Linked DNA regions of Homo sapiens: all the other regions are linked to region 6. The links are contacts of gene promoters, found by promoter capture Hi-C in blood cells and fetal thymus (Javierre and others, 2016). All regions are on one chromosome and are shown on one strand. The core of a region is centred on a gene start or on the middle of the fragment in contact, and the rest is flanking DNA. Distances in the headings are between cores, read along the strand shown.

Evidence for each region. The method cuts DNA at HindIII sites, captures the fragments that hold promoters and counts their contacts. A CHiCAGO score of 5 or more calls a contact.
Region 1: a contact is called between a fragment that was not itself captured here and the fragment with the promoter of PRELID3B in region 6, in 1 of 17 cell types (naive CD8 T cells). The highest score is 5.4, in naive CD8 T cells.
Region 2: a fragment that was not itself captured here is called in contact with the fragment with the promoter of PRELID3B in region 6 in 1 of 17 cell types (neutrophils); the score reaches 6.6 in neutrophils.
Region 3: a contact is called between a fragment that was not itself captured here and the fragment with the promoter of PRELID3B in region 6, in 1 of 17 cell types (neutrophils). The highest score is 7.6, in neutrophils.
Region 4: a contact is called between a fragment that was not itself captured here and the fragment with the promoter of PRELID3B in region 6, in 1 of 17 cell types (non-activated CD4 T cells). The highest score is 5.3, in non-activated CD4 T cells.
Region 5: a contact is called between a fragment that was not itself captured here and the fragment with the promoter of PRELID3B in region 6, in 1 of 17 cell types (endothelial precursors). The highest score is 5.6, in endothelial precursors.

The regions. Positions count from the first base shown.
Region 1 is chr20:59,393,512-59,396,351 of GRCh38, forward strand. No RefSeq gene overlaps it. Among named protein-coding and RNA genes, the nearest start is that of EDN3, 94 kb to the left of the region's middle. The HindIII fragment of the contact is 1,476 bases long and covers 540-2,015 here.
Region 2 is chr20:58,674,614-58,677,734 of GRCh38, forward strand. It overlaps STX16 (syntaxin 16), which reads left to right. Exons shown (of 9, transcript NM_001001433.3): 9 at 1,574-3,121. The coding sequence ends at 1,678. All of the region lies in intron 8 of STX16-NPEPL1 (STX16-NPEPL1 readthrough (NMD candidate)), which reads left to right. Among named protein-coding and RNA genes, the nearest start is that of NPEPL1, 17 kb to the right of the region's middle. RefSeq lists enhancers at 1,214-1,739, 1,740-2,264. The HindIII fragment of the contact is 2,189 bases long and covers 294-2,482 here.
Region 3 is chr20:58,694,602-58,697,629 of GRCh38, forward strand. All of the region lies in intron 3 of NPEPL1 (aminopeptidase like 1), which reads left to right. The region is part of intron 13 of STX16-NPEPL1 (STX16-NPEPL1 readthrough (NMD candidate)); the gene reads left to right. Among named protein-coding and RNA genes, the nearest start is that of NPEPL1, 3.3 kb to the left of the region's middle. RefSeq lists an enhancer at 1-385. The HindIII fragment of the contact is 3,026 bases long and covers 71-3,028 here.
Region 4 is chr20:59,415,183-59,418,440 of GRCh38, forward strand. No RefSeq gene overlaps it. Among named protein-coding and RNA genes, the nearest start is that of EDN3, 120 kb to the left of the region's middle. The HindIII fragment of the contact is 6,355 bases long and covers 1-3,258 here.
Region 5 is chr20:59,453,715-59,456,963 of GRCh38, forward strand. No RefSeq gene overlaps it. Among named protein-coding and RNA genes, the nearest start is that of PHACTR3, 150 kb to the right of the region's middle. The HindIII fragment of the contact is 2,702 bases long and covers 477-3,178 here.
Region 6 is chr20:59,041,253-59,044,109 of GRCh38, forward strand. It overlaps PRELID3B (PRELI domain containing 3B), which reads right to left and starts at 1,534. Exons shown (of 6, transcript NM_016045.3): 1 at 1,447-1,534. The coding sequence starts at 1,478. SLMO2-ATP5E (SLMO2-ATP5E readthrough) reads right to left here and starts at 1,594. Exons shown (of 6, transcript NR_037930.1): 1 at 1,447-1,594. RefSeq lists a silencer at 1,452-1,851. The HindIII fragment of the contact is 2,130 bases long and covers 73-2,202 here.

The DNA.
Region 1 (2,840 bases), core at 28-2,527, 350 kb after region 6:
AATTAATCTAATTATCACAATTCATCCATCCATCCATCCATCCATCCATCCATGTTACCATCAATGTACCATACCCCAGGTGCATGTTTCCCATTTAAGTGTCCTTGGGGGCATAGTGACTACTGCAAAACTCCAAAGAGAGCTGTCAGCCATGGGCTCAGCCAGGGATCCTGGGGAGTGCCAGGAAAATTCCCCTGGGAAACACCAATTGTTGTCCCATCCCTAGCCCTACAAGTATTCTGGGGGAGGCTGAGAATGAGTAGATTCCTTTTCTCTATGTGGAGAGGAAGAATGCAGGCAGGAGAATGGCATAGAAGAAATGAAAGGCATTTTAAAGAATTTTGGGGCCATAATCCAAGGAAGTAAAACTGGTGTGGAGCCTGCTTCTCATCATTTTCCAGTGGAGGGGAGCACGAAGCATGGTTGGATTTCGCAGATATTGGATGGGACATACTTGTATTAAAAAGTATGTTGTTTATTTGAAATTCAAATTTATTTCTCTTCTTTTATTCTTTCTTTAGCATGATCTGACAACCATAAGCTTGCAGACCCACCTGGGTTCTGCCTCTTGTGAACAGGTAACCTTCGGTGAGTCACTCTGACACTTGGTGAGCCTCTCTGACACTCACCTTTCTCACCTATAAAATGGGGATAACAATAAATACCTCGGGGAGTGTAACCAAAATTGCCCACCACTGGGACCACATAGGTGGTGGATTGTGTAGAACAGAAACATGAAGGGCTCACCAGGAATTCCAGGTCTGTAGACTGCAGGACAGAGGCCTCAGCCAGAAGTGCTCAGAATCCAAGTTCGACAATGCTCCGCCAGTCACAGGAAACATCTGTGGGGCAACTGTGGTCCCTAGGCTGCTATTTTGTAAGCTCCCATTTTTCTAGGGCTGTCCAAAGGATGACATAGGATAACATGGTGATATATGAACCCCAAAGGTTCGGCGCACCGAGCCGGCATTGCACAAATGGCAGCTCCAGGGCTCTCGGGGCAGAGATCAACTCTATTGTTTTCAGCCCCTTCTCTTGCTCCCAATGCTCCCCCCTGCTCTCTCTCTTTTCAGGACCTCCCCTCTCCCCTACCTCATCTGTTGCAGCAACTCCTGCATCTACAGATGTCCACTGACTGCTTCCAAACCCTACAGCTCTTCACATATGGGAGAAAAAGACTTGGCAGTTTCTTAAGGGATACTCACAAAAGACCATGTTGAGACTTGGGTTTTGGAATGAGACAAACTTGAACATGGACTTGACCACTAACTCTTTCAGCAACTCATTCTGTGCCAGTGGGCAGCTCATTCAGCACCTTCGCATGCAGTGCCTGTGAAATAAGTACTGAAATGAGGTGAAATAAATACTGAAATGAAATAAGTGTGAAATAAGGTCTGGAGCTCCGAGAGCTGTGGCCAGTGCTCCATAAATGCCAACAGTGACCAGCAGGACCAGCAGTACTACATGATTCTCAGAGCCACAAGGGCCCTCAGAGCGGACTTCCTCTAGCACAGTACTCATTGGAGGAGAGCTGGCTTGATTTGCAGCTTTCTCTAGCTCTTAGCTTCTGGGAAACAAGAGGTCAGAACAGGGTGACTGCTTGCTCACCCTGTGTGTAAGAAATTTTACAAGAATGGGAACTCCATTGCAGACTTGTTGCTTGTTTCAAAACATTCATCCATCTACGGTTTTTCAGGATGCTGACTTTAATCCACTATAAATGTGTCAGTCAAAATCCTTTTAGTTGCAGGTGATAAAATTACCAGCTCTGAGTAACTAAAAGATGGGGGTTGACTAATTGTGTACAACAAGCAGCCTGGAGAAGGGGAGTAACCCGGGGCTCCTGTGTTTTGCATGTTTCTGCCTTGCCATCTTCACAGTCACAAGAAGGTTGCCATAGCTCCAGGCATCATGTGCTTACACCATAGTATCCTACACAAGAAAGAAGGAGGTACAAGCCAAAGATCTTTCTCTTTATAAATCTCTCTTTATTCTTGGGGATAAGCTCTTCCAGAAGCTTCCTAGCAGATTTTCTTCTGCAGTTCAGTGTTGGGAAGTAGGTCACACACCCATCCCTACACCAAAAACAAAGAAAAATAAGATGGCAGTGGCTTAGACCGATTTGCACTTTCTGTGATTGCTGCACAAAATCAGTGTTCTAGTCACAGGAACAATGGAGGAATGACTACTGAGTGGACGGTCAGTATTTCTGCCATTTGTAATAATAATGCAGATAAAAGTAGCTTCCATTTGCGGAGGACTTACTATGAGCAAGTCATCCGGTTAAAGGCTTGACTGAATGACATTAGTTTCTCACGATAGCCCCATTTTGATCATACAAGAACCCACTGTTCTTGTTCCCATTTTCAAGGGAGGCAAGTGCATTCTGTGGGGCACCTGGTGCTGGCTGTCCCTGAAGCTGTCCCTGGTGCTGGCTGTCCCTGAAGTTATCCCTGATGCGTGTCCCATCAGTCAGCCGAGGGTGGAACAAAAACTATGAAGCCACCAATGACCCCACGCTCCCCCTCCACTTCCCAGATTCCATGCATCCTTGCTCAGGTCTGGCAGGAGAAGCCAAGAATAGACCCTGCCTTGCTGGTGCCCAGCAGCAGCTGCAGGAGGAGGCATGGGTCTGCCCTCTAACTCAATTGCATGTTTCGACCATGTTGCAACATTCCAGGCCAAAGGCAGTGATTTCTAATCAACAGGATTGTGTCCTTGGTCCAGGCCTTTCTGGAGCACTTAAAGTGACTGGTGACAACTGTTTCTGTGGGTCCTCTTTCAGTCTTCATTCATGTGGGACATTTTGACTGGGGAATGGTTTTATGCCTTGGGCCTCA
Region 2 (3,121 bases), core at 138-2,637, 370 kb before region 6:
CTAACCAGAAGCCCTGAGCTGTCTTTTCAGGGGGCTTGTTGCCATGTGTAGGTGGATATGAGACTCCAGCCTGTGGTGGGAAGAGAAGTCTGACCTTGTCTATGCAGGGTTTTTTTAAGCATTTAGATTAATTTGGTTGCCAAGCCCTGTCTATTAAAAGTGAAAACTAACTTAAGTTTCTCACTCTGTAATACCCAGGTTTTGATGTGCTGCTGAATTATGCATTGGTTTTGAAGTTTCTTAAATAAAAACTAGTGAAATATGTTTTGTAATATAACACAGATAAAAGGAAAAGCTTTCTCTGCGGGAGTGAGCAAATCTAGTGGGAACTAAAAATTTTGTTTTAGGTTCTACTTTATAAATCATTTTGAGAGGTTTTACAGTATATTATTTAGTATTGGCTTCCCTGGTGTTCTGGGTTACTTATTAGAAAAGTCAGCGTGCTCCATCTTCCCTCCAGCCACAAGGCTGTAGGCAGCACGCGCGTGCTCGGCAGTCGGCTAGTCTAAGGGTGATTGAGCGTCGGGAGCTGCTCCCCATGACCGGACTCTCGGTGCTGTCCCCGTGCCTGATGTTTCCTCCTGGTGGATGAGGGGCTCCTCCAGGTGGGCGGGCAGGCTCACTTAGGAAACAAGCCCACCGCGGGGGATGGAGCAGGAGAGATTGCCATTCTCGCCAGGGCTGCCTTCCCGCTGTCTCCTCCTCCCTCCTGTGCCATAGCAAGGTCTGGAAGAGGCAGCGCATGCTCTCCCTGGACGTGCCTCCCGGCGCCCTCTGAACTCTGCTGTCCTCTGGCTCTCCTTTCTCAGTGCTCTGCGTCTTTCGCCAGCCAGGTGGGGCCCTTTGGCATTTCTCTAGCAGGCATGATGGAGTTCCCGCTCCTGCCGAGCTTCCAGGATGCGGTGTTAAGGTGAAGAGATGTGCAGGGTGCAGCCTCGTCCCCAGATTGAGCTTGGAGGGCTCCTTTGCTGTATCGTTAGCGGCACTGGGAGGACGCGCCTCAGAGGGATCTTTCTGCATATGACATCCATGGGGCACACGTGTCTGTTTTTATTTCAAAGGATGAGTTTTTGTTTCCAAATTTAGGGGAGGTCGAAATGGGGCCTCTTCCGGGTGTCTGTTGCCTACCTGCCAGGTACGGTCCTCCAGCCCGTTGTTTCCTTCCGCGGTGAAGGAACTGTGCATTCGCTCCAGGAACACGGACCGGGAACAGGCGACCCGTGCTGCAGGGGCACTTGCCACGGCCTGCAGGAGGAAAAGCCGGGAGAAGCAGGCCCAGCTGCACCCGGAAGCATGAGCTTTCACTTCCCTGTCAGGCTTTGTCTTAGTAGTAGGTTTCCAACAAATCCATTTCCACGTCCAGGGTAAATAAGCAGCACCAGGATCATGGGGCTCTTCCACTCCTGGTGATTGAATTCCGTGGGATTGATTGGAGGGATTACAATCATGTAGCCTGTAGCAGAGACCTCAGTCACTGTGCAGAGAGATCTGGAAGCCTCATTCTGGAAACGAGTGGGACTTGATTTGGGATTTTGGGGAAAATGACGGCCTTTTTTCCCTCCTCTTTTTGTAGGCAGAACAGTATCAAAAGAAGAATCGGAAGATGCTTGTGATTTTAATATTATTTGTCATCATCATTGTGCTCATTGTTGTCCTCGTTGGCGTGAAGTCTCGATAAGTGGCATTGGGTTTTCGTGTGTGCCGCGCGTGTGGATCTCCCGGGTGTGAGGGGCTTGGCCTGCGCCCCGCCAGCTGCCCGCAGAGGTGCAGCCTCGAGGAATCTGAGGGCGTCGGGGCAGCGAACCTTTGCATCCACGGACTCCTCCTTCCCTAGTCCTGCTCAAGCGGTCCGGGGAATGGGTTTTTGTTTTTCCTTCATTGTTGAGAATTTAAGGACCTTTGATACTGCTGCACAATAGAGATTGAGTTCTGGGATCAGTTATAATATATATTTTTTTTAGAAAGAGAAAATGAGCTGAGAGTTTACAGGCACTGCAGAAGCTGTTCAGTATTATATGTGTATATGCTATTTTTTTAGCAGCCATGTCTGAGCAGAATGTTAACATAATTTTTGGAAAAATTTTCTTTAAACCATCTGGTTTTTAAGAAATTTGGTACCAAAAATTGATGAGTAGAGGCAAAAATGCCCCTTCATCTTTCTCTATATATTTTCCAGTTGAAAACAAACTAAGAAGTCCTTTAAGAATTTATAATCCGTTCCCCATTAACTTAATTTAGCTTTTCCATCACTGTTAATGATCAGAGTAACAAAGTGTGAAAAATAAGAAACCATCATTGATGTTAATTAACACATTTAGATGGGCCAGTTAAAACAGCTTCATAAGTTTTAAATTAATTGTAAATGGAATATTCCTCATTTAAAATTTTTGCACTGCATTTTCTACTGTAAACCAAAAGAGGTTACTAAGCAAAACCACCTAAATTTAAGTTGGTGATTTAAATGAATCTCACATTAAAAGAAAGCTTGACAGTGTTATGAAAGCCACCAGACTCAGCCAGTGTGTCCCCATGGGTATCCCCAGCCATCCTTGCTCAATCCATTACTTATATACTAACTACATAATGACCTGTTCAAACCAGACTCTATTTAATGAACTGTGAATTTACACAGAGGCCATTTTAAATGGGTCACCCCATTTAGGATTAGTGGATCTCAAATTATTAACCAAACATCACTCCATTTCAAAGTAAAATATTCCACCAGCGATTTGATTTATTGGCTCTTCCATTGCCACTGAGCAATGCCCAGGAAGCAGGCACATTGCCAAGGACTGGGGGCATCTTGACTAGGAAGCTCCTCGTTTGTGTGAGCGTGGGTCAGACCGCCAAAGTAGGACTTCATCGTTTACCTACCTATTATCAATATGGTGCTTGAATATATTCCTATAACTGTAGAACAGTGTGGAAAGTGATGGTAACTTTGAAGTTGTTCATGTTTTATTGGCTTTGTTTTAATTGACACTAGTAGAGTTTTAATGGTCTTTGTGTAAATTTTAATGGCTTTTCCATTGTTTTTGCTTCTCTTAAAAAGTTTAAGAAGAATATGACCTCATTAAATGTGCTGTTTTATTTGGACCAGTCACACAAAATGTCTCTCTAG
Region 3 (3,028 bases), core at 334-2,833, 350 kb before region 6:
TGGAAGGGCAGACACTGCCCCTGGGCCCGGGCAAGATCGGGCAGGTGGGAGGGAGGTCGGGAGAGGGAAAAGCTTGTTGCGGGGGCAGGAGGGGGTTCCTGCCCTTCCCAGGAGCTTTGGTTCCTGGGAAGCGGCAGAGGCTTTTCCAAACCCAGGCCCCCTGCCTCTGCCTCAGCGTGGTCTGTGACTTCAGGATTCTGTTGTATACAGGCAGTGTTTGTTGAGCACGTAATCAGTGCCAGGAACGTCCATGCTGTTTTCCAAATAACCCTGCCCGTTTATGTGAGCTCCGTGTGCACGTGTGTGATGTATGCACGTGTGTGTGTATGTGCGTGCACATGTGTGTTGCTGTGCGTGTATGAGTGTATGTGCATGTGTTGTATGTGTGGGGGGTGTGTGTGTGCATGTGTGATGTGTGTGTGTGTGTGGTATGTGTTGCTGTGTATGTTTGCTGGTGTGTGCATGAGTGGTGTGTGTGGTGTACGTGTGGTATGTGTTGCTGTGTGTGTGTGTTTGCTGGTGTGTGCATGAGTGGTGTGTGTGTGTGGTGTGCATGTGTGGTGTGTGCATGTGTGGTGTGTGTTGTTGTGTGTGAGTACTGGTGTGTGCATGAGCAGCATGTGTTGCTGTGTGTATGAGTGCTGGTGTGTGCATGAGTGGTGTGTGTGTGTGTTGTGTGTGTTGCTGTGTGTGTATGAGTGCTAGTGTGTGCATGAGTGGTGTGTGTGTGGTGTGTGTGCATGTGTGTTGCTGCACCCTTTACAGGGAGCACTTCTACATGTGTTATTTCACTCAATGCTGAGAATGATCCTTTTGAGGCTGCAAGGCCGGAAGTGATTTCCCAGCTCCAGATCCTTGGATGGGCCTGACATCAGGCTCCTGTCCCCACGGCAGCGGTCCCAGCCTCTGCGCCTGCCACCTCCAGTCCCCGAGCCCACAGCGCCACCCAGGTTGTCTTTTCTCATGTGTCAGCGCTCATTCTTCACTTCTGGCTCTGGAAGGCTGTCGCCTTCACCCAGGCAAGCTCTCCCACATCAGCACTTGGGCCACACCTCATTTCTTTCACTGTGTGCTCTCTGAGGCCTGTAACCACTGCCCCTCAACCCAAATTCTTCCATCTTCACCAGCATGAGATAGCTCCCCTTTTTTCCCTTCGTCTCTGAGCTTTTAAAAAAGTCTAACTGGTTTGCCTTGCTTAATCCTCTTTTCCCTCTTAACCCATGGAGACAGAGTTTTTGCCCCCATCCTGACATTGTTTTCTAAGGACTGCTGGATGGGGTGTTGCCGTCCCTCCTTGAAGTGCATCTGCCCCATCCAGAGGTCTCCCTCCCTCCCGCTGCTCCCCAGACTGCTGCCACCTCTCGGCATCCCCTTCATGGCCTCTCCAGCGTTCCGACCTGCTCAGCCCTCTCCGGGTCAGACACCAGCATCTGCCTCTTCTCTCTGTCTTTAGGGATTTTCTTCTGACTTCCAGGCCTGCCATCCAGGTGGGCACGGGTGCCCGCAGAGCCCACCGGGGGCTCAAGCATCACCCTTATTTCCGAGGACAGCAGGGCACCCTGACCTCTGCTGCCCTCAGTCCCTTCCCCTCCTGTGGACTTCCTGCTGTCCCTTAGACTGGCCACGCCCACTCCTGCTCTTGCTCCTCTGCAGGGGTCCTTCCCTCTCCAGCCCAGCATGGTCTCCATCCAGCCTCTGCCCACATTCCCTCCCCAGGGAGGCCTGGCCCTCTTGGCTAGCACCACCCTCCCATTTGTCAGCTAAACCATCACTACTAGACATGTCACATCTTTGTTGATCTCCTGTGCTCCTCACTGGGTTGGGAGTCCCCAGAGGGCAGGGACCTGGTCTTGTGCACAGTGATCCCAGCACCCGACCCCACACATGAAAAAGGCCCAGTAAACATCTGGTGATGGAACCAGTGGGGGCAGTCAGTCCCCATGGCCCCCGACCCCATTGGTCCCAACTAGCTAGTGTGTCCTGTTTCTTGTCTTTGCTCTGCCCAGTGCCGTGCCTTGAGGTGCTCTCCTGGGCTGTGGCAGCAGTCTCCTGGTCACCCTGCCACAGATGGCCTCCTTCCAGCTCCTGCGTCACTCGCCTTCCAAAGGCACATCTGGGTGTGTGCAAGGTGGCATCTTCTGAGTGCTGTCAGCTGTCAGGCCCTGCGCTGAGGCAGGAGTGTGCACACAGCACGTGCTGGTGCACTGAATTCTCACTACAGCCCTGTGAGATACATCCTGTTGTCCCCACGACATTGAGTGGCTCACCGGGGCCACGGCAGCAAGGGGCAGAGCCAGGTGTTAAGCTGCAGCTGCCACCACTCAGCCCTCTTGGGTCCTGAGCACACCATCATCTGACACCCACGTGGCCTGTACTCAGCTTCTCCCTTTTCTTCCCTGCGGGAACCTTCCAGTCCCCACCCAGGACCCTGTCCCCTCTGCATCCTGTGGCCTCATCCTCTTCTGTAGCAGGGACTGGGACTGTGTACTGTGAGTCTCTGCTGAGCTTGACTCCCTTGGACGTCTCTGAATTCTCAGAGTCTTGCACGATGCCTGGCACATGTGGACAGAATGAGTGGTCCTCCTCTCATGGTAAGGGACACCCTTCCCCAGTGCAGCATGGCTGTGTGTTGGTGGAGGGCACCCGCAGCCCTGCCCTCCCTCCCACAGGAGCGCTCTTGCGTCAGAGCCCCGAGCTCGCCGTGGTCTGGGGTCTTCCAGGTGACACCTGGCCTCCTTGGAGGCAAGTCACACAGCATTGACGCACTTCTCAGACAGTCCTTGTCGAGTCCCCACATGCCCTCACAGACAGAGAACCCGCTGACAGGCGGCAGGGACGGCTCAGGCACATTCATATCAGAGCTGTCAAGGTCCAGGTTTCTACCTTTGAGGCTTTGGGGTTTAATTACCTCGGCAGGGCGGGGGAGGTGGCCAGGCTGCAGTATCGACCCGGCGCCTGCTGCCCTGACATTATGAGACTAGAGGCAGGGATGATAAACTTGCTGCTGTCCTGCACCCCCGCAAAACAG
Region 4 (3,258 bases), core at 601-3,100, 370 kb after region 6:
TGCAAAGATGCTTAACGTAGCTTTCTAAGCCACTGGCGCCAGTGTACAAATTGTCCTCTGGGTGAGGAGCACGGAGATTCGGCTACTCCATGGGTCTAGAATGTTAGGTTTGATGATGGCCAATTGCACTTCATCCAACAAATACTGCAGTGGGACTTATTGCCAATCCCCAAGGTTCAGGGAGTAGGGGGTCAGGGCCGGAATGTGAAAGTGACCAGACCTAGGCATTATCGGAGCTCACTATCTGTGGAGAGAGGTGGTCACCTAAATGGTGTGTGATACGTCATGCTTGGTGCCAGAGCTTCGGGCTGGGAGGGCAGGGGCATCTGTGAGGGCCATAGGAGAGAAGCAGAGCTGGGCACCCCAGGGAGAGGCGCGGGTGGGCACATGCGGCCCCACCATGAAGAGCCCCGTGTGCCTGGCAAGTAGTTGGCAAGGCCTGTGCTTGGTGGGTTCTGAGCAGGCTCCTACTGTTCTAGACCAAAGCAGGAAAGTTGAAGGCCCACTAGGAGGTAAAATACAATGCCTGATAGGAGAGGGTGGTGCCTGAACTGGAGAAGTCACAGGATGGAGAGAGCAGGTGGAGATGGATTCAGAGGGTTGGGGAATGATTGCATTCTGCAGAGCCAGTGAGGCCCATGGCTGGGATGTTGGGGTGATGGTGATCCAGACAAGAGCTACTCACAGGGAAGTGGAAGGGACAGCGATGAATCTTGCTTCAAAGCACATTCCCTAGGATTGGGTTTTTTAGAGCAGTTTTACATTTAGGGAAAAATTGAACAGAAAGCACAGAGAGTTCCCACACATGCCCCATACCCCTCCCCCAATAATCCTATTTTCATTAACATCTTGCCTTAGCATGCTACACTTGTTACAGTTGATGAACCAATATTGATGCATTATTATCAGTTAAAGTTCATAAGAGGGTTGACTCTTGGTGGTGTACATTCTATGGGTTTTGACAAATGTATAATGTCACGTGCCCTCAATTACAGGATCATACAGAGTCATTTCACTGCCCTAAACATCTCCTGAGCTCCACCTGTTCGTCCCTCCCTCCCCCTTGAACTCCTAACAACCACCGATCTTTTGACGTCTCTATAGTTTTGAATTTTCCAGAATGTCATCTAGTTGGACTCACACAGCATGTGGACTTTTCAAACTGGCTTCTTTTACTTAGCAAGAGGTGTTTTTTTTTTGTTTTTTTTTTTTTATGGAGTCTCACTCTGTCACCCAGGCTGGAGTGCAGTGGCACGATCTTGGCTCACTGCAACCTCCACCTCCCAGCTTCAAACAATTTCCCTGCCTCAGCTTCCTGAGTAGCTGGGATTACAGATGCATGCCACCATGCCCTGCTAATTTTTGTATTTTTAGTAGAGACGGGGTTTCACCCTGTTGGCCAGGTTGGTCTCAAGCTCCCAACCTCAGATGATCCACCTGTCTCAGCCTCCCAAAGTGCTGGGATTACAGGTGTGAGTCACTGCGCCAGGCCAGCAAGATGCTTTTACGGTTCCGTGTATGTCTTTCTGTGGATTGCTGTGTCTTTGAATTTTCAAGGTGCTGTGTTAGTATGATGGTTGTGAAGCCTGAGATGAGAAGAAGCCATGAGACACCAGATAAAGCCATCAGAGGAGCAATGTTTTGCCAACCAATGGCTCAGAGCCCACCCTGTCCCCACCCTGCCACTAGGAACCCTTGCCCAGTTCTAGAGGAGGCAAAATCATGGATGTGTCACTGGCTAATGTCCTTGTCCAAGAGTGACACAAAGGCAGGTAGAGTTTCCCGGAAGACCATGTTACCTGCCTTCATGGGCAGAATAAATTTCTCCTTTACCTATCTAGAGAGTCTTACCCAGGCAGCTCAGAGACCCCTGTGCTCAGGCTGCTCCTGGTGGGGTGAGGGGTAGATGGCAAACACCCAGCCGAGGGTCCTGTCTCCCCTCCCCGTGAGACCCCAGGGCCCCACCATCTGGGGCACGCTGGCTGCTTTCCCTGCCCAGCATGTCCAGCGGGCTGCCTTGATGAGCTCACCCTGGAACATACAGAGCCTCTTCACATGTTTTTCTTTTTCTCTTCTTATTAAAACAATAATAGCTTGACTACAAAACTATTAATCTGGCAGTAAATTATGGGAAATTTATTGCTATGGTTGTTTTTCAAAAATTGGCCATATTATCCCAGAGGAGGTACAATTAAACATTGAAGAATAAAAGTCACAAATGATTTGGACGGCGCCTCTTGTCTGAAGGTTTCAGAGACCGCCTATCCTTTTTCCATCAAATGCTCTGCAGATGGCCTCAGATGCTGAGACGTGGCAGAACTCAGTCCAAGGATAACCATGAAGTTGTCCATGGAATGATTGCGCCTCATTCCTTGCTGTTCCCTGTTGCTCTTGCAGCCTCCTGTTTGTGTTTCAGAGCATGCTTATTGTGTGGTAGGAACTAGGAGCCAACAGGGTTCCTAAAGGTAGCTTGATCTTGACCAGCGGGCTTCCAGTACAGTCAAGATATTGCCAGAACCGCCAGGAATTGGGTAACTGATGAGAGAAGAGAAGAAAATCTTGTAAATAGAAATGCCGAAGATGGTGAGAAAATGAGAGAAAGAATGACAGTGTAGGTTAAAGAGGGTCCCAATGACAGAATCCTCCCAAAATATGTTCAAAGAGGGAAAAGTACACTTGGATTCTGGAGAAGAGGGTTCTTTACTGTGCCTGGGGTCGTGGTAGTCATAGCAATCTGGGACAGGGTGTCTACATATTTGGGGCCCTGGGATCGTGCAGAATCATGGAGAGTATAATCCCAAATAAAGGCGCTGGACAACACCACTTGTAGATTTCAGGGAAGGAGAGAGATGGCAGCCACTGGTGTGGTCCAGTGCAAAGAGTGGCTGAAGGTCTTAGGTAGGGGAGATGCTCCCCAAAAGAGCAGGCACTGGGGAGGAGTGTCCTGTGGTTGTAGCCAAGGTGAAGTGGAGACAAGTTTGAGTAGATGCTGGGGGTCTTGAAAGCCACCCAGAGAATGTCATTTGTTCATTCCTTCCACCCACATCCACTGGGCACCCACTATATGCCAAGCACTGTGCAGGGCAGAGAGCAAACCCTGCCTTGGGCCATTCAGGCTTTGTTCTGTAGGCAGAGCCATGGAGAGCTGATGAGTGACGGAGGGCCAAGGTGACTCTGGGTTCTAGAGAGACGCTCCAGGCACACTTCTTCCCTTCACCCGGTCATGTTTCCTGACCTCACATCTGGTGTTATCTTTGT
Region 5 (3,249 bases), core at 578-3,077, 410 kb after region 6:
GATTAGGAATCCCAAGCAGACCCAGCATGAGCAGCCCTCCCTTGAAGCCAGCAGCTCAGTGTGAAGAGCTCCCAGACAGCCCTTGTCAGGCCTGGGGACAGAGGAGGGTGAGGACTTGAAAAATCACCAGCAGAGAGTAGAAATGGAAACCACCTGTGCACAGTTTTCCTCTATGCGGGCTGGCTCTGCAGCTGCAATAAGAAACATCGAGAAAAGCTGATGAAGTGGGGAAAAGGATCCAGAACAGATGTGTTTCCTGTACACATTTCAAATGTGCCGGGCAGAGGCCGGCGGAGGCCCTATGGGACGCAGAGAGGCCCTGCTGTGTTGAGGTCCCAGCTGCCATTTTGCCTGCCTTCTTGGGCTCCAGGATGTTGGCCTCAGGCTCCCCGCTGACCAACCCTGTTTGGGGTTAAGTGAACACCGCTGGACAGACGTCAAGTCATGAGAAAAACTCCATCCTGAGAGTCATCTTAAGCTTCTTGGGATTTCAGTATGCCCAATTGATTCCAGCTGGTGTCAAATCAGCATATTTTGCCTAATTACATTCATTTTTGCAGGTGGTCGCCATCGGTTTCATTTACAAGAACTCAGAGTAGCCCCAAGAAATGAACTAGATAGCTGGCAGAGCAGTCCACAGTGGGGAAAAAGTCTGTTTTTGTGAACACTGAATTGACATATGCTTTTCCATAAACCCAGGCTTGCAAGGAGTCGTGCTCATGGCCTCCTTGTCTACTTTCCATCCCTCAGTCTCTCTCTCTTTTTAAGGCATAAATGTGAAAAGAAAACAAATCTCTCCTCTCCTATCTTCCCCGGCCCGACTCAGGGATTTGAACGCTGCTCATTGCTGGCCCAGCTGAACCAGGGGGCCCAGACCTTAGCCTCCTTTGGAAGACTGCCATGTAAATCAGTGGCCTACACCAAGTTTTCTCAGTAATGTGAGTCCTTCCTTTCCCTAAAAATGGGAAATGGGGCCTCCACAGGTCATCAAAAATGTGGCTTAAGCCTGGTGTGGTGGCTCATGTCTGTAATCCCAGCACTTTGGGAGGCTGAGTGGGTGGATCACCTGAGGTCAGGAGTTCGAGACCAGCCTGGCCAACATGGTAAAACCCCATCTCTACTAAAAATACAAAATTAGTTGGGCATGGTGGCACATGTCTGCAATCCCAGCTACTTGGGAGGCTGAGGCAGGAGAATCGGTTGAACCTGGGAGATGGAGGTTGCAGTGAGCTGAGATGGCACCACTGCACTCCAGCCTGGGCGACAGAGTGAGACTCCGTCTCAAAAAAAAAAAAAGAAAAAAGAAAAAAAAAGAAAAAGAAAAAATGTGGCATAAAAACAGAACATCTGGCCAGAGATCATTGTTTAATGGAATCCTCTCCAAGGGTTCTCTCTCTTGCAGACCCGTCCAGGGCATTTCAGAGAGAAGAGCCTCGAAGCCCAGCCCGGAGAGGCAGACCAGAAACAACTGAAAGCAGGCCGGGGAAGATAGGAGAGGAGAGATGTGTTTTCTTTTCGTATTTAGGCCTTAAGATCCAGCCCATGTCAGCCTATCTCCTCCCCAATTGCGGGAGTCAGACACATGTCCCCCGGAACAGAACAAGGTGTGCAGCTGGGGAGGAGACGTGCCACTGTCTAGCTTGGGGCCCACCTGCCATGTAGCTCCCAAATAACATAGTGAAGTGGTTAAAGGGCACTTGTTCTGGAGCCAAGTGGACCCAGGTCCAAATGACAGCTTTCTGACTGACTTTCACTCACTTACCTGGGACCTTAGGCAAGTGACTGGTAGCACTGAGGTCCTGCAACATGTGGGCAACCCTATCTCCCCCGGGGGTGACTGTGAGATCAGAGGAAATGTGTGCAAAGCACTAGCACAGGGTGAGGCTTTGGCACACAGTGCACTGGGCTGGCTGTGATACATGGTAGCTGGCACAAGGTCAGGTCTCAGACTGCTGCAAGTATTACAGGGCAGTGAGACATTGTAGCCATTGCAGTTATCATCAATATTCCCTAGCTCTGATAATTCTCTCTCCTCACCCCAACCTGTGGGAGTATAGAAAATGGGTACTAGCAGGAAAAAAAGCCCAGGGTTTGGCAGGATTCAGGCCATTTCAGGGCTGTTTATGGACAGAAACTTCTCAGTCTTTGGATCACGGCAAGGAAATTTTTTTCCAAATCCTTGGGTAGCTCATTTGTGAGGCAACAGCACCCTCTCTGGTCGGAAAGCAGCATTTTCTCTAGAATTTTCTCTGGGGGCTTCAGGGCACCTACACCCAAAAAGTGAACAGGTGTGTAAATGAGTGTGGTGTGGTCTTTATCCAAGGAGGTCAGGGCAACCTCAGCATCTCCCCCTTATCTGTGGGCGACTGCATCCATTTCTTCCCCCTCATTCTTCCCAGCTTTCATTGCTTCTGAACTGCTGACAGTGGGGACAGTGGGGACAGTGGGGAGGGAAGTATCTGTGTCTGAGGAGCCCGCAGTACCCCCTCTCAGGCTTAGCCACACTGGCTGCCTGCTCCAGTTCCACCCTCGGGGCCAGCACTTACTCGGCATATCCGAGTTTTGGTTTGTCCTGGCCTTTTACAGTCCTGGGAACTGTGACTGGACCTCCACTCACACTGACCTCTCCCCAGCACCCTTCTCCACCACCACTACAGAAACTTGCATGCTATTTGGTTTGGAAAATTCCAGAAGGCCCGACTCTCCTGTGGGTCTGTGTCACCCCTGACCAAGTCCCAGCTCTGAGGTCTCAGGCAGGCCAAGCTGCCTCTCTGAGCTCCTAGAGCCTCAGCCCCGGAGGGGCAGTGGTGGGGCATTCACAAAGTAATCTGTGGTCATACCTGGCTCCAGCAAGCCCACAGGCTGTGCCTGCCATGCCGACACGCCCCTTCACACTGCCAGCAAGTGGCTGCGTGGTCCTGTCTCGGGGGCTTCCCCCACCTGTGGTCCGGGTGTTGTCCCATTCAGCCTTGTGACATCTCTGCGAGCTCCCCTTCTCGTTGCCAACCTACCCTGAGAGATGCAGCTCAGAGAGAGGAGCGGGCCCAGCCTGCTGGGGGTGTCCCTCCAGTCTAGAGCGAGACTCTCACCCAGGCCCCCCATGGCCCAACAGAACCCTGGGGGCTTCCAGGCCCCACACCCGCTGCTCCTCACGACCCCTTTTCTCTGTCTCCATGGAAGCTTGGAGATACAAGTTGGAGAGAACAAAAGCTCGGGGGCCCTTCCCGGCCACTCCCAGCCCGGCTCCCT
Region 6 (2,857 bases), core at 284-2,783:
ATGAACATCTAAATGACCACAAATTTCGGGTCTTTTTCCTCCCAAAAAGACTAAACAGTAGGGGGAAAAGAAAGCTTCCTTCTGATTCCAGTATTCTATACTTTGCAGGATACAGCAGGCCCTAGGATGTGTCCCACTGAGTACAAATGCGGACAACGTTTTAAAAGTTGCCTTCAGAGGCCGGGCACAGTGGCCCACACCTGTAATCCCGGCACTTTGGGAGGCCAAGGCGGGCGAATCACCTGAGGTCAGGTGCGACCTGACCAGGGCGAATCACTTTGAGACCAACCTGACCAACATGGTGAAACTCCGTCTCTACTAAAAATACAAAAATTAGCCGGGCGCGGTGGTGGGCGCCTGTAATCCCAGCTACTTGGGAGGCCAAGGCAGGAGAATCGTTTGAACACGGGAGACGGAGGTTGCAGTGAGCCAAGAACACGCCACTACTCTCCAGCCTGGGCAACAGAGCGAGACTCTGCCTCAAAAAAGAAATTTAAAAAAAATTTGCCTTCAGAGACAGTTTTAAAAACATAAATGGCTTTGTAGCATATTTATTTACAAGGCTATACTAATTAAAACAGTGTGGCAACGACATTAAGATCAGCGGAACAGAGCAGGTAACTCGGGAAAAAAAAGGATTTCGCTGCTTAAATTTGTGGCTCTTTTGTAAATGGAATCAGGGACCTAGAAGAGAATATAATTCTCCACATCCAACTGGTTCAAGGCTTAGTTTCGTTAGTAAACAGTTCACATTATCCAAAAAGATGTTCCTGAACGTGGCCTCAAAGAGCTAACACGGGTAGGCCCTGACGATCGTCCTTTTCCATCTCTCAGATGAAAATGGGTAACCCAGGGTCACACGCTTGTTACAGCCAGAGCTAGACCTTGAATTCCAAATCCAAGGCTCTGCTGCGTAGATGAACGAGTTGTGAAAAGGCTTCACATCCTGGTGGTCAGAGTTCACCCGAAATTCACATTCGAAGGTAGAAACTCCACCCAAACGGCGGCCAGGGAAAGTACACTCTGGAGAAAACCAACACCTCCCTCTTGGGATCCTCGGGTCCACGTCCCAAAGTGGTTTCACAGGGCGGGATGGGGCAACCCTGAGTGCTGTCAAGGGCTTCGTGCTCCGCGACGCCCCCAGGACCTCAGGAGGCCGCCGGCCCGAGGCTACCTCATGGTGGGGGACAGCCCGGAAGTGACCCCGTAGCCCTGCCGGTCGCAAGGCCGCCTGGGTCTGGAGGTCGGAGCCGTCCCCTCGGCTAGGGCGCCTCGGGGTCGTGACCTTGGTCTGCCCTCCGTGTCGCCGGGGCCCGCAGGCTTCAGAGTTCGCTCCCCTCGCTAGGCCCGACGCCTAGAAGCCTCCTGCGGGCCGCCTCTGCCTCGCCTCTACTCCAGGGCCGGCGTGCCTGCCCTCCACGGAGCCGACCCGCGCCCCAAACTTACTCAAAGACGTGCTCCGAAGTCCAGATCTTCATGGTGCCGGCACCCTGAGAGATGTCCGGGTAGCGCCAGGGGACAACGAGGCACAGAGGCTACACCTGCCCCTGCCCCGCCCCCAGCACCCCAGCCGGCGGCGCAGTGCGCAGGCGCTGTCGGGCCCGACGCGAGGGACGTCCAGACGCGCGGCCCCACGCCCTATCCCGGCCCGGGTTTTGCCCCAGCCTTGCGCGCGGCGCAAGGAAACCCCGCCTCTTAGCGCCGGGCGCATCGCGCCGGCGCAGTGCCGCCGACGGCAGCTGGAGGGGCCGGCGCGGGCGCTGTGCTGCGCAGGCGCGGCGGGCTTGTAGCGAGCCTTGACCTCTGGGCAGAGTTGGGTCAGGTCCAGGAGGTGCCTGCGCGCCCGCTTGGCCCTCCTTGTCCTTCTGGCCCAGCACATCCTCGCCTGGCATTTCGAGGCGTGTGGACGCATGCGGTCAGCCTGCTGACATAGATGTTCGTTGTGGTGGTCACTTGTGCAAAATTTCCTGGTGCCCTATAGAGAGTTCCAGCCACCTCCTGGGTCAGCCCGGGCTGTTTTCCCAAATCCACCAGCCACCCAGCCGATCAGCTGGGCCAGTCCCACCTGCCCGCCAGGAGCTTGCAGCCCTCGGAGGGGATAAATAAGGCGTGACGCGGAGAAGCTAACATCAGACCTGCCCATGAATAATACCCCTACGAGGGATGCGGTCCGGAAGCACGGTGCCAGGGGTCGGGTAGAAAAGCTTCCTGGCCGGGCACACCTTGCCCTAGGTGCATAGGATGGATCTGAGCTGAGATGTCTCTCCCAGAGAGACTTCCCTCGTCACCGTTTCTCACCTTGTTGCTCTGCTCCGTCACAATATCCTGTTGCATTTTTTATAGCACTTACCCCTCTGACATCATCTTGTTAATTTATTTGTGAAAATTCACAATCGAACTGAGTTCTTGAAGGCAAGAATCTTGCCGGTCTTGCTCAAAAATCATCCTCAGTGTCTCCCATATAGTCAAGGCTCAATGACTACTTATTGAAAAATGAAAAAAATCAATAGCTATTTGTGGGATGAATGAATTAATGGAGTCATCTAGTTTATTTGTTGTAACTTCCGCTAGACTGTAAGCCCCTGAGGGCGAGGCTCTTGCCAGACTTGTTCAGTGATTTCCCCCTTCCTAAATGACAATTATTTGTTGCATCAATGGATGAAAGAATGACTAAGAATTGCTGGGGCAGGAGGAGGTGGCATGTGGTTTCATTCAGAGATGAGCCTTGTCCAGGGAACAGACTGCCTGGCTTAGCTTTCAGAATATGGCTTCCCACCCTGCTCTCCTGCACTCTCCACAGCCGTCTACCTCCTAACAGAACAATTTGCCATTTTCAATGAAGGTTATGGAGGAAAAT